Linked DNA regions of Homo sapiens: region 2 is linked to region 1. The links are contacts of gene promoters, found by promoter capture Hi-C in human tissues and cell types (Jung and others, 2019). All regions are on one chromosome and are shown on one strand. Each heading gives the region's core, a stretch centred on a gene start or on the middle of the fragment in contact. The rest is flanking DNA. Distances are from core to core; before and after follow the strand shown.

The links. Contacts are between HindIII fragments. The study calls those that stand out against the background at their distance.
Region 2: a contact is called between the fragment with the promoter of FKBP1A here and the fragment with the promoter of FAM110A in region 1, in 1 of the 25 tissues and cell types used here (lymphoblastoid cells).

What each region holds. Positions count from the first base shown.
Region 1 is chr20:830,107-837,360 of GRCh38, reverse strand. It overlaps FAM110A (family with sequence similarity 110 member A), which reads right to left and starts at 3,646. Exons shown (of 2, transcript NM_001042353.3): 1 at 3,410-3,646. RefSeq lists an enhancer at 1,630-1,729 and a silencer at 3,246-3,395. The HindIII fragment of the contact is 14,108 bases long and covers 1-7,254 here.
Region 2 is chr20:1,391,780-1,398,919 of GRCh38, reverse strand. FKBP1A (FKBP prolyl isomerase 1A) reads left to right here and starts at 5,866. Exons shown (of 5, transcript NM_000801.5): 1 at 5,866-5,958; 2 at 6,039-6,086. The coding sequence starts at 5,922. FKBP1A-SDCBP2 (FKBP1A-SDCBP2 readthrough (NMD candidate)) reads left to right here and starts at 5,748. Exons shown (of 10, transcript NR_037661.1): 1 at 5,748-5,958; 2 at 6,039-6,086. MIR6869 (microRNA 6869) reads left to right here and starts at 5,959; the gene lies at 5,959-6,020. RefSeq lists silencers at 5,810-5,859, 6,060-6,159, 6,170-6,239 and an enhancer at 5,974-6,474. The HindIII fragment of the contact is 6,579 bases long and covers 928-7,140 here.

The DNA of each region.
Region 1 (7,254 bases), core at 2,397-4,896:
TGCAGAGTCATGACTGGGTGCAGTGGCTCAAGCCTGTAATCCCAGCACTTTGGAGGCTGAGGCAGGTGGTTCACAAGGTCAGGAGTTCAAGACCAGACTGGCCAAGATGATGAAACCCCGTCTCTACTAAAAATATAAAAATTAGCCCAGCATGGTGGCGGGGGCCTATAATCCCAGCTACTCAGGAGGCTGAAGCAGGAGAATCATTTGAACCCGGGACACAGAGGTTGCAGTGAGCCGAGATGGCGCCACTGCACTCCAGCCTGGGCGACAGAGCGAAACTCTTGTCTCAAAAAAAAAAAAAAAAAAAAAAAACAATGCAGAGTCACTTGAACAGACATTTCTCCAAAGATAACAAATGGCCAACAGGCACAGGAAAAGATGCTCAACACCATTAGTCATTAGGGAAATGTAAATTAAAACCACAATGAGACACCACATCACACCCCTGAAGATGGCCATTACCAAAAAAAAAATACAAACAGAAAATAACAAGTGTTGGTGAAGATGTTGAGAAATTAGCACTTTGTGCACTGCTGATGGACACATAAAATGGTGCAGTCACTGTGAAACACAGTAAAGTAGTTCCTCAAAAAATTAAACAGAATTGCCATAGGATCACCCAGCAATTCCACTTCTGAGTGTATACCCAAAACAATTAAAAACAGGAACTCAAACAGATATTTGTACATTCATGCTCAAAGCAGCATTAGTCACAACAGCCAAAAGCAATCCAAGTGTCCATCAAGGAATGAATGGATAAACAGAATGTGGCATATACATAGAATATTAGAATAGATTATTCCGCCATAAAAAAGAAAATTCTAACACATACAACAACATGGGTGAAACTTAAAGGCATTATGCTAAGTGAAATAAGCCAGACACAACAAGACAAATACTGTTATGATTCCATTTATAATACCTAGAGGTACCCAAAGTAGTCAAATTCACTCAAACAGAAAGTAGAATGGTGATTGCCAGGCACTGGGGGGAGAGGCAATGGGGAATGTACTTAATGCCACTGAACTGTATACTTAAAAGTGGTTACAATGGTAAATTTTATTTTATATACATTTTAATTCATTCACTGCCCCACCCCACCCCCCCCCCCAAAAAATGTAAAATTTAGAGCCAGACTCTCTGGGTTCAAACTCCACCTCTAGGTTATCTTATGCAAATTATTAAACCTCTCTTGTGCTCAGTTTCCCCTCTGCAAGATGGAAATAAGAACAGCAGTAATTACCTTATATCACAGAGTTGAGGGAATTAAATGAGTTCATACTTGTAAAGTACTTAGAACATAGTAAATGCTCAAGAGGTGTTAGTGATTTTTATTCTTTGGTGAGGGGGTGGGAGGTGTGGTTTCCAAAGGTTATAATTTTCATGACATTCTACACCCAACCCGCCCCCTTCCTCCCACCTGCTTCTTTCTTTCCCTTCAGCAGAAGCCTGGCCTAGATTTGGGGAGGCCCTTGCCTGCCCCAGAGGAGATTGGGAAGGCTCCAGGCAGTGGCAAGGGGCCAGCCAGCAGGGCAGCCCCAGCTCAATTTCAGCCCAGCTGTCCAGGTCAGGGACACCCAGCTGGGCCACCTCCAGAGCCACACCAGGCCCTGAGCTATTTCTGGAGGCCTCCCAGACGCTGGTGCCCTGGCCTGCCCAGGAGTCAGCCTTGCTCAGGGTGGCCTTGCACTAACATTAGGAAGGGAGAAGGGAGTAGGCTGTGGAATGGGTGTGGATGTGGACATCTAGGCCCACTGATACCAAGTTGATCTTCTAGGCCTAGGTCTGCACTTGAGGTTGCAAAATGGGGATGAAGGATTTTGCAGTGAGGACAGAATGGAAGATAACACATGCAAGGTCTTGGGGAAGGGCCTGGCACGCAGGATTAGAAAGGGGAGGGGGAGGCAGATCCACAGCCAAGCCCACTTCCTATCCTAGACTGCCCTCTGCCCAGGCCTGAGTGCACCATCATGACTTCTTAGCTCAGCCCAGAGACTGAAGAAACTTACTCAATGTCACAGAGCAACTCAGGGACAGGGCAGTGGTTTCATGATTTATAAATATGCATATATATACACATATATACATATATACACACATACATATATATACATATATGTGTGTGTGTATATATGTGTGTGTGTATATATATATATAGAGAGAGAGAGAGAGAGAGAGAGAGAGAGAGAGAGATGGGAGGACTGCACTTCATGAAGGCTGTGTGAGTTAACCTCCTGCCTGCAGAACACACAAATGGTCCATGAACGTTAGTTTCAGTCTTGATTACTGAGGTTTTGGGCATCCCTAAATTTTGCACTGGCTCAATTGCCTCAGCCCCTGCCTTGCATCACAGTGGGAGAAGATGATACATTTGCTAATAAGTAAAAAAACCAAAACATGCAAGAACCAGAGCAGGGCTTATGAAGTCAATAAATAATATTTGTTGAAAGAATAAAAGAAAGCCTTGTTTTCTTTCTGAGTCCTCGGAGATCCTGTCCCCCAAAGCCAGGGGCAGGCTCCAGAGGAGAGAGGATATGTAACTCCCTTATGAAGAGATTGAAGACTCTCAAAATGCATGATTCTGTGTGTCAAGGATTCTAAGATTGAAGCCAGAGGGACTAGGAGCTAACCACTGCATTGTCTGACTGTGACTTCGAAAAGGGGCTTAACTTCTTAGAACCTCCGTTTCCCCACCTACAAAAGGAGACTGACAATAGCAACCTAGGGGGCAGGGGGTGTCCCCAGGAGACACAGCAGGGTCTGGCCTAGGTCAGCTGCTCCACCTGGGGGGATTCCGGCCCCACTCCCAATTCCAAAGTCTCTGGTGACTAGTGGCTTTGGTTTAGGGACTGGCTCTATTCCCTTCCCCAAACTGGGGATGATTCCCAAGAGGCCAGCAGCGGCTCTGGGGGCTGGAGAATCTGCTGCCCCTGCATCCAGCCCAGAAATGTCAGTCCCGTCCGATCCCCAAAGAGTGGTCCTCTGTCCCCGTAGACAGAAAGGCGCCAAATGAGCCGAGTCCAACCCCGGACTGCGGAGAAGGAAAGACAGACGCCCAAAGGGGGTATCCCGAGGACAGTGTGGGGCGCGGGGATATGTGATCCAGCCAGGGGTCTACAGGTCCCTGCCGATAAAACGCTGGGAAAATGACTACCAGTTGCCCGTCTGGGCCTCTCAAGGCAAGTCCAGATGTGACTAGACTAGGGGGCTGCGAGGTGGGGCAGAAAGACTTGAACTGGATTCTCCGCCAGAGCTCGCCGGGCCGGGACACTTGCCTCTCTGAGCCTCAGAGTCCTCATCTGTGAAATGACACGCAGGTACGACGCGGGGAGAAAGCAGACAGCAGACGCTCGGGGAACGGGGCCCCCAGACCCGGGGTCGCACCCGGACCCACCCGCGCCCTCACCTGGAGCCCGCGCTAGGCGTGTCCCGGCTCCTCTCGCGCAGGCTTTGGAGAGGCTGACAGCTCGGACCCGGGCCGGTAGTGGCCGCTCCCAACGACGCCCAGGAGGCCCCAGCCCCGCGTGGGCACCTTTGGGGTCCCCTTTGGAGCTGCCCTCCGCGGTCGAGCTGAGCGGGTGGCCCTCACTGTCGAAGGCCCCCACCGCAGGGAAAGTCCCTGGGGCGCCGTGGAAGGGGAAGTGAGCACGCCGCCCCCCTTCACACCAGAATGGTTCGCCCCGGACTTCCTGATTGGTTCCTCGCTTCCGTTCGAACGGCGCGCCGCCAGGGTTGCCAGGCGACCGCTTAGCTTCCCCCGCCCGAAGGAGAGGCGCTGCTCAGCAGCTCCGCCCGCTCCTCCCAGCCGGCCCCACCTTCTTCCTGCCGCCGCTTCAGCCCCGGCGCCTGGTTCTTTCCCTTCCTCCTCCTCCCTCCCGCGGCCAGCTGGGACTTCCTCTAGGACCCCAGCTGGAAGAGCTCCAGTTAGAGGGCCCTGGCTGGTTCCTAGTCCTGACTTTGACGCTAACTCCCTATGTGACCCGGTGCAAGCCCCTTCCTTTCTCTGTTCTCCTAACTGCATGATGATGAGTGAGTTAATTTTAAAATGTGCATACCCAGCAGTCCCGAAATTTACAAAGGAAATGACCAAAGATATGAGCAAAGATTAATATTGCTCAGCCTTATTCATCATAGCAAAATAATGGAAACAACTTCAATGCCTCTTGAAAGGGATTGGTTATATAATTCCATCCTGTGGAGGAGCTAACTTAATTGAGCTTTTTGCATGCCGGGTAGCTTTACAGAACAAGTCTTGTCAAGGCTTATGACATAACCCTCTAAAAGTACTTTTAATTATTAACACTTTATTTATTTCTTTATCTTTTTCTTTTCTTTTTTTTTTTTTTTTTTTGAGATGGAGTCTCACTCTGTCGCCCAGGCTGGAGTGCAGTGGCAGGATCTCAGCTCACAGCAGCCTCAATCTCCTGGGGTCAAGCAATCTTCCCACCTCAGCCTCCCAAGTAGCTGGGACTACAGGTGTGCACCACCACACCCGGTATTTTCTGTATTTTTTGTAGGGATGGGGTTTTGCCATGTTGCCCAGACTGATCTTAAACTCCTGAGCTCTAGCAATTCTACCAACTCAGCCTCCCAAAGTACTAGGATTACAGGCATGAGCCACGCCACCTAGCCTAATTTTTCCCACTTTCTGATGAGGAATATTATGCAGCCATTAAAAGTGAAGTAGCTACCAGGAGCAGTGGCTCACACCTGTAATCCCAGCACTTTGGGAGGCTGAGGCGACCAGATCACCTGAAGTCAGGAGTTCAAGACCAGCCTGGCCAACGTGGTGAAACCTCGTCTCTACTAAAAATACAAAAATTAGCCAGGCGTGGTGCCACATGCCTGTAATCCCAGCTACTCAGGAGGCTGAGGCAGGAGAATAGATTGAACCTGGGATGTGGGGGATGCAGTAAGCTGAGATCATGCCACTGCACCCCAACCTGGGCAAGAGATCATCTCAAAAAGATAAAAATAAAAGTGAAGTAGCTAGAAGATATTTAAAGATAGGGGGAAATGCTAAGTATTAAACATTGGTTTATTTATGTTTTTTAGAGACAGGGTCTAGCTCTGTTGCCCAGGGTGGAGTGCAGTGGTGCAATCATAGCTCACTGTAACCTAGGTTGAAGCAATCCTCACACCTCAGCCTCCAGAGTAACTAAGACTACAGGCCCGCATCACCATGTCAAGCTACGGGTCTCGCTATGTTGCCCCAGGCCAGTCTAGAACTCCTGGCCTCAAGTGATCCTCCTGCTTTGGCCTCCTGAATTTCTAGGATTACAGGCATAAGCCAATGCACCCCTCCCAAATTTTTTTGAAGTACAGTATGCTTCAAAACACTATGTACAGCATAAATATGTATTAAATACATATGTATATGTGTATAATCATCTATAATCACAGCAGTTAATTTCTTCTTTGTGTTTTTGTGAATTTTCCAAATTTCCAATACTTGAACATGTCAAAAAAGTATATTTTTAGGGGGATTAGAATGAATTAACTCTAAGGGCCTTTAAGGTGAGGAAATTTTATAGCAGTCAGTCTGAATTGCTCAATTTGGAACCAGCTTCTCTGTTTCATTCCAGCTGGTGTCTTTTATTCTTTGTTTGGATTGCCAATAATTGAGAACTTACTGCGTAAACCCCTGGGTGGGCAGGGGAGGGAGCTAATAATATATCAATAGCTAATAATGATTGTACACTCTGGCATGGACACCAACCAAATCAGAGCCAACCACTGTCATAAACAGGGAGTCTGCTGTATCCGTGAGGACCAGCTAAATATCAATCCTGGCCCTGTGCCCTCTGCTACATTGTGTTAGGGCTTTATACACATCATCTCATTGGACTTCATGACTATCTAAGGCGAGAGATCCTGCTATTATTCCCATTATATAGATGAGAAAACTAAGGTCGGTCTGGATCCAGAATGAATTCTCTGATCCACTCTGTTACATTCCCTTGTAAACATGTGAGAACTGTTTGGGAGTAACAGTGAGGTAAGGCAAGGGGGATCCTGTGATCCTATAAGACACAAGAGAAGATTGAGCAGGTAGCTTCAGCCTAGGGAGACTTCTTTTTTTTTTTTTTTTTTTTTTTTTGAGACAGAGTTTCACTCTTATCGCCCAGGCTGGAATGCAATGGCACGATCTCAGCTCCCTGCAACCTCTGCCTCCCAAGTTCAAGTGATTTTCCTGTCTTAGCCTCCTGAGTAGCTGGGATTACAGGTGCCCGCCACCATACCCGCTAATTTTTTGTATTTTTAGTAGAGACAGGGTTTCAGTATGTTGGTCAGGCTGGTCTTGAACTCCTGACCTCAGGCGATCCACCCACCTCGGCCTCCCAAAGTGCTGGGATTACAGGCGTGAGCCACCACGTCCAGCCCTAGGGAGACCTCTTTAAGAAAAAATTACAGATATGAAATTAAGTAATAAAGTGAAGATTTGGTTAGAAAGAGACAAGAAACCACAATAAGGTGGCTCATGCCTGTAATCCCACCACTTTGGGAGGTCGAGGTGGAAGGAGTGCCTGAGCCCAGGGGCTTCAGACCAGCCTGGGCAACAAAGCGAGATCCCCAGCTCTACAAAAAAATTTTAAAAAGAAATTAGCTGGCCAGGCATGGTGGCTCATACCTGTAATCCTAGCACTTTGGGAGGCCGAGGCTGGTGGATCACCTGAGCTCAGGAGTTTGAGACCAATCTAGACAACATGGCAGAACCTCATCTCTACTAAAAATACAAAAAATTAGCTGGACGTGGTAGTGGGCACCTGTAATCCCAGCTACTTGGGAGGCTCAGCCAGGAGAATCACTTGAATCTGGGAGGCAGAGGTTGCAGTGAGTCAAGATTGTGCCACTGCACTCCAAGCTGGACGACAGTGAGACTCCGTCTCAAAAAAAAAAAAAAAAAAGGAAAAAAGAAATTAGTCAGGCATGGTGGCACGTGCCTATAGTCCCAGCTACTCAGGAGGCTGAGAGGGAGGATTGCTTGAGACCAGGAGGTTGAGGCTGCAGTAAGCCATGATTTCACCACTGCATTCCAGCCTAGATGACAGAGCAAGACCTTGTCTCCAAAAAAAAAAAAAAAAAAAAGAGAAATTGCACAAACGTTACAAAACGCAGAAAAATAACATTCTTTTTATTAGCTGCCTGTCTCAAACACATCTGTAATACTTTCCATAAACTAGCTGCTGGCTCCGTGTATACATTCAAACCTCTCCTTCACAGTCTTGTGGAACTGAGTGCTGTAGGACC
Region 2 (7,140 bases), core at 4,617-7,116, 560 kb before region 1:
GGGACCCAGGTCCAGGCCCCCTTCTCGTTTCCCGACAGTGGGGGATGCCATTCTGATGAAATCTTGAGCGGCACTGATTACCCCAGTGATTTCCTTTGTTACAGCGAGGAGAGTCCTGGCATGTTTTCCACTATGGAGGGAGGGGTACTGCATTATAAGATCCTTTCTGTCCTGAGATCTGGCAGCATTCCTTTTTAAAATGTCCAGTTTTTCCACAATTATAACATTTTCCTACTTTAGGGCTTAATCCTTGGCTCCTTTTAGATTTGTCAACTGCTAGATTAGCCATTGCTTGCGCTAACATTGAAGACCCATGAAGCTCAGTTCCTACATCCTGACAAGCTCTGAGAAAAGTTTTTTGTACACCTCACAGGTGCCAGTGCACGTTTACAATCTGCGTTTGCATTCTCAAAAGCTAAAGTTAAGGTTAGCATTTCCGTGGCAGTGGCAAGAGGAATTTGATGCTTCACTGCCTCTTGTAATCTTGCAAGAAACTGCGCGTAGGGTTCCTGTGACCCTTGCATGATATGTAAAAAGGACAGTACTGGGACTCCCTCTTCAGGAATTGTGGCCCAGGTGTGTTTAGCAGCCTGTGCACACTGCTGATAAGCAGCGTCTGGGAGTGCCATTTGACGTTCCAGGTCTGAATAAGGGCCATTACCCAATAGCATATCCTCTGTAATGTCTCCATGTCCAGCAATATGGTTCTGTCTAGCCTGGTCTGCACACAGTTCTTGCCAATTTAAATACCACGTCAGATATGCACTAGCAGACAAGCAAGTTTGAGCCAAGTGTTTTACATCAAAGGGTAGAAGACACATAGCACCAAATGCAGATTCTACCAATCCTAAAGTGAATGGGCTCTGTACCCCATTATTAGCTACACTCGTTACACTTACAGAAATAGGAAAAGTACAAGGTCCTAAGGGCTCCCCTTAGCTATGGCAGCAGAGCATAAAATTCTTTGTATTGGGGTCACTATTTCTGCTACCAAAGGAGGCGGTACAGATGTTTCTGCAACTGGAGGGGGCGGTGTAGGCCAATTTTTATCCTCCCTCTCCATTTTTTATTTTCAATTGGAGCTGTGGGTGGGACAACAGATTCTTTCAGATTTTTTAGACTCAGCCTGCTGTCCAGCAGAATAATAAGGAGATAGCAGAAGAACAGTACGAACTAGACTCCAAGTGGAGAAAACAGAAGAATCAACTTTAGGACCTTTTTGATGAGCCTGTTTTAATCCTTCTCCTGGTCTATCCCAATTTTCCACATCAAGAGTGCCTGCCTGTGGAAACCATGGGTTATGCGTAATAACCTTTTGTGGCTTCTGCAGGAGGTTAGTTAGTGCCTGCGAATTAACCTGAGCTCCAGACTGTCTCAACAGAACTTTAAGCAACTGCACATGATGTTTTTCTTCAATAGACAAATTCTGCTTCATGTTACCCTGATTCAGAAAACTTCCCATTCCAAGTACTTCTTTAGAGCACTGACCTTATATCGTTCCCAGTACCTCTTTAGGGCACTGACCTTCTATCTGCTGCCAGCAGACTCATCCTGGGGTCCCCGTTCATCTTGTCAATTTCAATTCCTCTGCTCCAGCAGAGCTTCTTCATTCACGTCTTCAAAGTCCCTGTGTTCAGATGCCACGTGTCCGACATCCTTGGAGTCCCTGTTCTGGGTCGCCACTTGTCACCTGCACAGACCTTGGGGGACTGAACAAAGGGGGCAAACATGGGAATAAAAGACAAAGACAAGAGAGCATATTTGAAAGAAGGGGTCAGGGGGCTCCTTGCTTCTGGTAAACAGGGGGCCTGAGCTTTAGAGCCCTTCACATTTATTAGGCAAAAGAGATAGCAAGAAGTGGGGGGTGATTGTCGGTTAGCAGTTTGATTTACAGCAGGCTTGCAAGACTGCAGTCTTTGAACAATAGGATCTAGATGTCCCAGTAGATAATCTCAATGAGCATGGCGCCAGGGCCCTCAGCAAACCTCCTGGCGGCAGGCGCAGTTGTGAGTTTGCCCACATCCTGCATTCATGATAAACAGTTTGCTGTTTGATCATATATCCTTCAGTGGAATGCTGAGTTGGTCACAATCCCTTTGGCCTTTTCAGCTCCCAACAGATGGGTACAATAGCAGAATGGAGATTGCAGGGAAACATGCCAGTGATCTCAAAGATAGAAAAATAGAAATTATCCAATCTGAACAACAGAGAAAAAGGACTGGGGGGAGCTGAACAGAACTTCAGGCACCTGTGAGACAATTCCAAAATATCTAATGTTCGTGTTACCAGGATCTGAGAAGAACAGGAGAAACAGAATGGAGCAGAAGAAAATATCTGAAGAAATAATGGCTGAAAACTTCCCAAATGTGGTGAAAGGCATACACCTATAGACTCAGGAAGCTGAGTAAACCACAAACAGGATAAACCAAAGGAAATCCAACCCCCATTTTTCAGGTTTTAGAACTTCAGGGAGGGAGTCACTTCCCCTTGTCATGAGGGATGCTTATGACTTCAGACTGAAATGATTCCCTGTCTCCTGTTACACAAAGAGAGTGAAAATAAATTTAATCAGTTCAGAATGATATTAAATGAAAGTCAGAATCTCCTGCTCTTTCTCCCAGTTCCATCTCTTAGAGTCACTCACTCTTTCTGTTTTTTGTTCTGGTTTGCTAAGGGTGATCCCAAAGAACTTAACTACTTAACAGAGTTGTTAATAACTAGGCTATATATAAACAGAATCTAAATTAATTTAGAAAGGAACTCTCCCAGTTACTTCAAAAAATCAGATAAATGCTTAATAAGTGCCCCTTGTCCCCAGGTCCAATTCATCTTAGGTCTGGTGGCAGAACTGATAGCTACATGCTTTCCTGTGTTTTCCCAAAGCACTGAGGAAGAAGTGGTGCAAATGTGAGGTTCTTGGGGAACCCCCATCTATATAAACAAAGCTTATATCCATGGATTGAGATGGCCACTGTCTCAAAGGCAGGTCTATGTTTTGAACCGATACCCAATTCAGAGCCATGAGAGAGACCACAGGATGAATGTGAGGCAAGCCTTATTCTGCTAGGCTTCAGGGAAAACGGAATCCAGGAACTCTCTCGCCCCTGGTTGCTCTCATTCTCCATCATTTATTCTCGCTGCAGTCTGATTTTCTCTAGGTGGTGTGAAGCAGTGTCCTGGCGACTGCTGGGGCCCTCTTTTTAATTTCATCTTTCGATCTCCATTCTTCCATTCTATGAGCACAGAACCTCTGATTTTAGTTGGGTGTGTGTACACCCAGAATGAAGACTTTATTCCCTAGCCTCCCATGCAGCTAAATTTGACCATATAACTAAGTTATAGTCAATGTGAAGTATAACGGGAAGAGATGTGTGCAATTCTAAGTCGTACCCTTAAAGGAAAAGGGAATGTACCCCCCATTCCTCCTTTCCCCCTTCCCACTAGCTGAGATGAAAATATGTTGGAGAGCCAACTTGGACCATGCATATGAGGGTAGGATTCTAAGGATGGGGAGCCACAAGTAGAAGAAGGATGAGTCCCTGGGCAGCCTGTGAAGTCCTACCTGCACTGAACCACCTGCCTCTGAACTGTTACATGAGAGAGACAGCAACTTCAGCCTCTTTTCAGCCACAGTTAATTTGGTTCTGTTACAGCCTGTATTCTTACTACATTAAAATTTCCAAAGCAGTCACGAGCTCACTGAGATTTTAGGAAAGGGGACATAGATGAGGGTTGGGGTGTCAAAAAACTGTGAGGTCATGTTTAAAACACTACAGGAGCTGGTATGGTTTAGTTCTGTGTCCCCACCCAAATCTTATCTTGAATTGTAATCCCTATAATCCTGAGGTCAAGGGAGGGACCCGGTGGGAGGTGATTGGATGGTGGGGGTGGTTTCCCCCATGCTGTTCTCATGGTAGTGAGTGCATTCTCATGAGAAATGATGGTTTTATAGGTGTTTGACAGTTCCTCTTCACATACTCTCTCTCATGCCTGCTGCTGTGTAAGATATGCCTGCTTCCCCTTCTGCCATGATTGTAAGTTTCCTGAGGATTCCCAGCCATGCAGAACTGTGAGTCAATTAAACCTCTTTCCTCCATAAATTACCCAGTCTCAGGAATTTTTTTTTTTTTTTTTTTTTTTTGAGACTGGTTCTCACTCTGTCACCCAGGCTGGAATGCAGAGGTGCAATCTTGGCTCACTACAACCTCCGCCTCCTGGTTTAAGCAATTCTTATGCCTCAGCCTCTCAAGTGGCTGGGATTACAAGCCTGTGCCACCATGCCTGGCTAATTTTTTTGTATTTTTAGTAGAAACTGGGTTTCACCATGTTGGCCAGGCTGGTCTTGAACGCCTGGCCTCAAGTGATCTGCCCGCCTCAGCTTCCCAAAGTGCTGGGATTACAGGCATGAGCCACCGTGCCCAGCCTCAGGTATTCTTTATAGCAGTGTGAGAATCGACTAATGCAGAAGCACACACACACACAGATCAGAGAAAGATTAGTCACATGTGCCTCCTTATGTCCTAGACCATGTCACAGTGTTCTCTTGCGTTACAGTGCCTCTGCAGGTACTGCTCCTTCTGCCTCCCCTTACCCCAACACATACACACAATTGGCCTTCTAACCTTGGCTAAACCTGGCTAAACCTGGCTAACTCAGGGAAATATCTGACCACATTCCAGACTAAGTGAGGCATCTCTGTTATATTAACACGCCCCTCACAGCATGTATTACTGTCTCATAATATTACAGATTTGAAACTTTACATTTATTCCGTATCTTTTTTTACTTAAACAGGTTATTTGATTATCTCTCCCACATCATACGTAGATTCTGTGAGGTCAGGGACTAAGTCTGACTCCTTCACCGCTGTATCCTCAGCACCTAGCACAGTACATGACATACAGAAGGTGCTTGTCAAAGTCAAAATAAAATATGGAGATGAATCTCTAAATGTAATGTTTTATTTGGGGAAGCGAGAATCGCAACTCGGAGCATACACACAGATCTGGTGGTCTTTGGTATGTCCGAAAAACAAAGAGAAGGCTGGGCGTTTTATTAGAAAGGGAAATGCATTGGCACTAGTAAAGTTTCAGGGAGCTGGCAAGCTCTGATTGGTGACTGACAGTGGTAAGTAAAACTAGTATTAGGTTATGGCGGGTTGTTTCAGCAGTTACTAGCTGAATCTGGTCTCAGGGGGACAGCAGGCCATTTCCGCAGCAGTTAGTGGAAATATTGGTTCTTGGAGCAGGCGCTGCGTGCCTCCAGTGCTTTTCCCCTGGCCCCTGGATTCTGATTCCGTTGGGCATAAGAAGAGTGACCCAATTCGTATTATCAACTTTCACATGCTCAATAAGAATGTATGCATGTAAGCTATGGGTGAGTGAATGAATTTGGACAACTCCTCCTCCAGTGAAGAAAAGCAGAACTTACAACCTTGAGCCACTTATAAAATACTAACATACTACCACCACCTGTGCGCTGTCTTCTCAGAACCATGCTCTTCCCAGGATGAGTAACTGTGTGCTTCTAAGTGGAAACCTGATGACAGTCACCCAGTCAGTGACTGGCGGACCCCCTATTATTACTCCCATTCTTTGGGCAGGGAGATGCTTAACCGGCTGGAAGCACAGAGGAAGGGCAGGAGAACGAAGCAAGTCACCCGGCAAACACAGCTGTATCCGGAGGCCTCCGGGCTTCCGGAGGTCTCGGGGCTTCTGGGCTTCCGGTCCCTCTTCCGGAGGCCTGGGTTTCCGGGACGTCGCGCGCCGTGTGGGGCGCGCACGCAGGGCTGGGCGTGAGGGGGCGTGCGCGTGCGCAGGCGACGCGCCGAGGTACTAGGCAGAGCCGTGGAACCGCCGCCAGGTCGCTGTTGGTCCACGCCGCCCGTCGCGCCGCCCGCCCGCTCAGCGTCCGCCGCCGCCATGGGAGTGCAGGTGGAAACCATCTCCCCAGGAGACGGTGAGTAGTGGCGCGCGGCGGCTCGGAGTACCTCTGCCGCCGCGCGCATCGGCTCAGCATGCCCGTCTCTGTCTCCTCAGGGCGCACCTTCCCCAAGCGCGGCCAGACCTGCGTGGTGCACTACACCGGTGAGTCGGGGGCCCAGCGGGGAGGGGGCCCGGGCCGCAGTCCGCAGCCCGGGTGCGGCTGGCCGTCGAGGCCTGGGGGCCCGGGGCCTGGGGTCCGGGGCGTGGCGGCGGCGAGGTCCGCATGGCCCGAGGCTGAGGCCTGGGCGGTGGCTCAGGGGCAGCCTGGGGCTTGCGGAACCCGGGCGGGTCTGAATCGGCGGCTGTGAGCGTCGGCTGCGGGCTAGGTGTTATCTGACCCGTCAGAAGCATTTCTGCACCTTAGATGCTGCCCTTATGCCCGCTGCACAGATGAGGAAACTGAGGCTTGGCGAGGCGAAGTCACTTTCCCAAGGTCTCACTTTCCCAAGGTCACACTTTCAGGAATGGGCAGAGCTCTGGCCAGGGACCATTAGGAAGGATTTGTACCATTTCTGTGCCCCTGCCCCCACTTCCATCCCTCCCTTCACTGGAGATGAGGACGAGGTAATTCCGAGTCTGCAGAGCTGCTGCTTCCTCCGGGGAACTCGGAATTCGCCCCTTTGCCTAGGGTGGGGAAACATCCCACTTCCTAAGTCATTGCTTTGGCCCTTCCTGGCCTTGGGGGAAGTAGAGCTGCACGGCCTTCTTCCGTCTTTTTACTTTTGAGCCACTTACAAATCCAAGGCTCAGTGACAGCGCTGGCTCAGGCTGACCGAAAGCTGCACGTGTAATTTAGTCCCCCAGCTCTTCTAGAAGTAGAGACTTTTCTCGTCCTCATTTTAAAGATAAGCATCTGGAGGCTAATACATAGTGATAATACAAGCCAAAGGAAATTTTAGACACCTCCCCCTCCCCAGCCAGAATTCAGACATCAGAGTCGTGTGCCTTGGGGCTGTCTTACTCCTTCTCCTTACAAGCTTGTCCTGGTTTGTATGGGGGCGGGGGAGGGGGAGAGCTGAGTTGGCGGAGACTCAGTGGCTGTGGGTCCCACAAGGGTGGCAGTGATTGGTGTAGCCACAGTTGTTGATACGAATAACCTTCCCTCCCCCTCCTCCTTCCCCTTTCTCAACCTTCCCACCCTTTCCTCTGTTCCCCC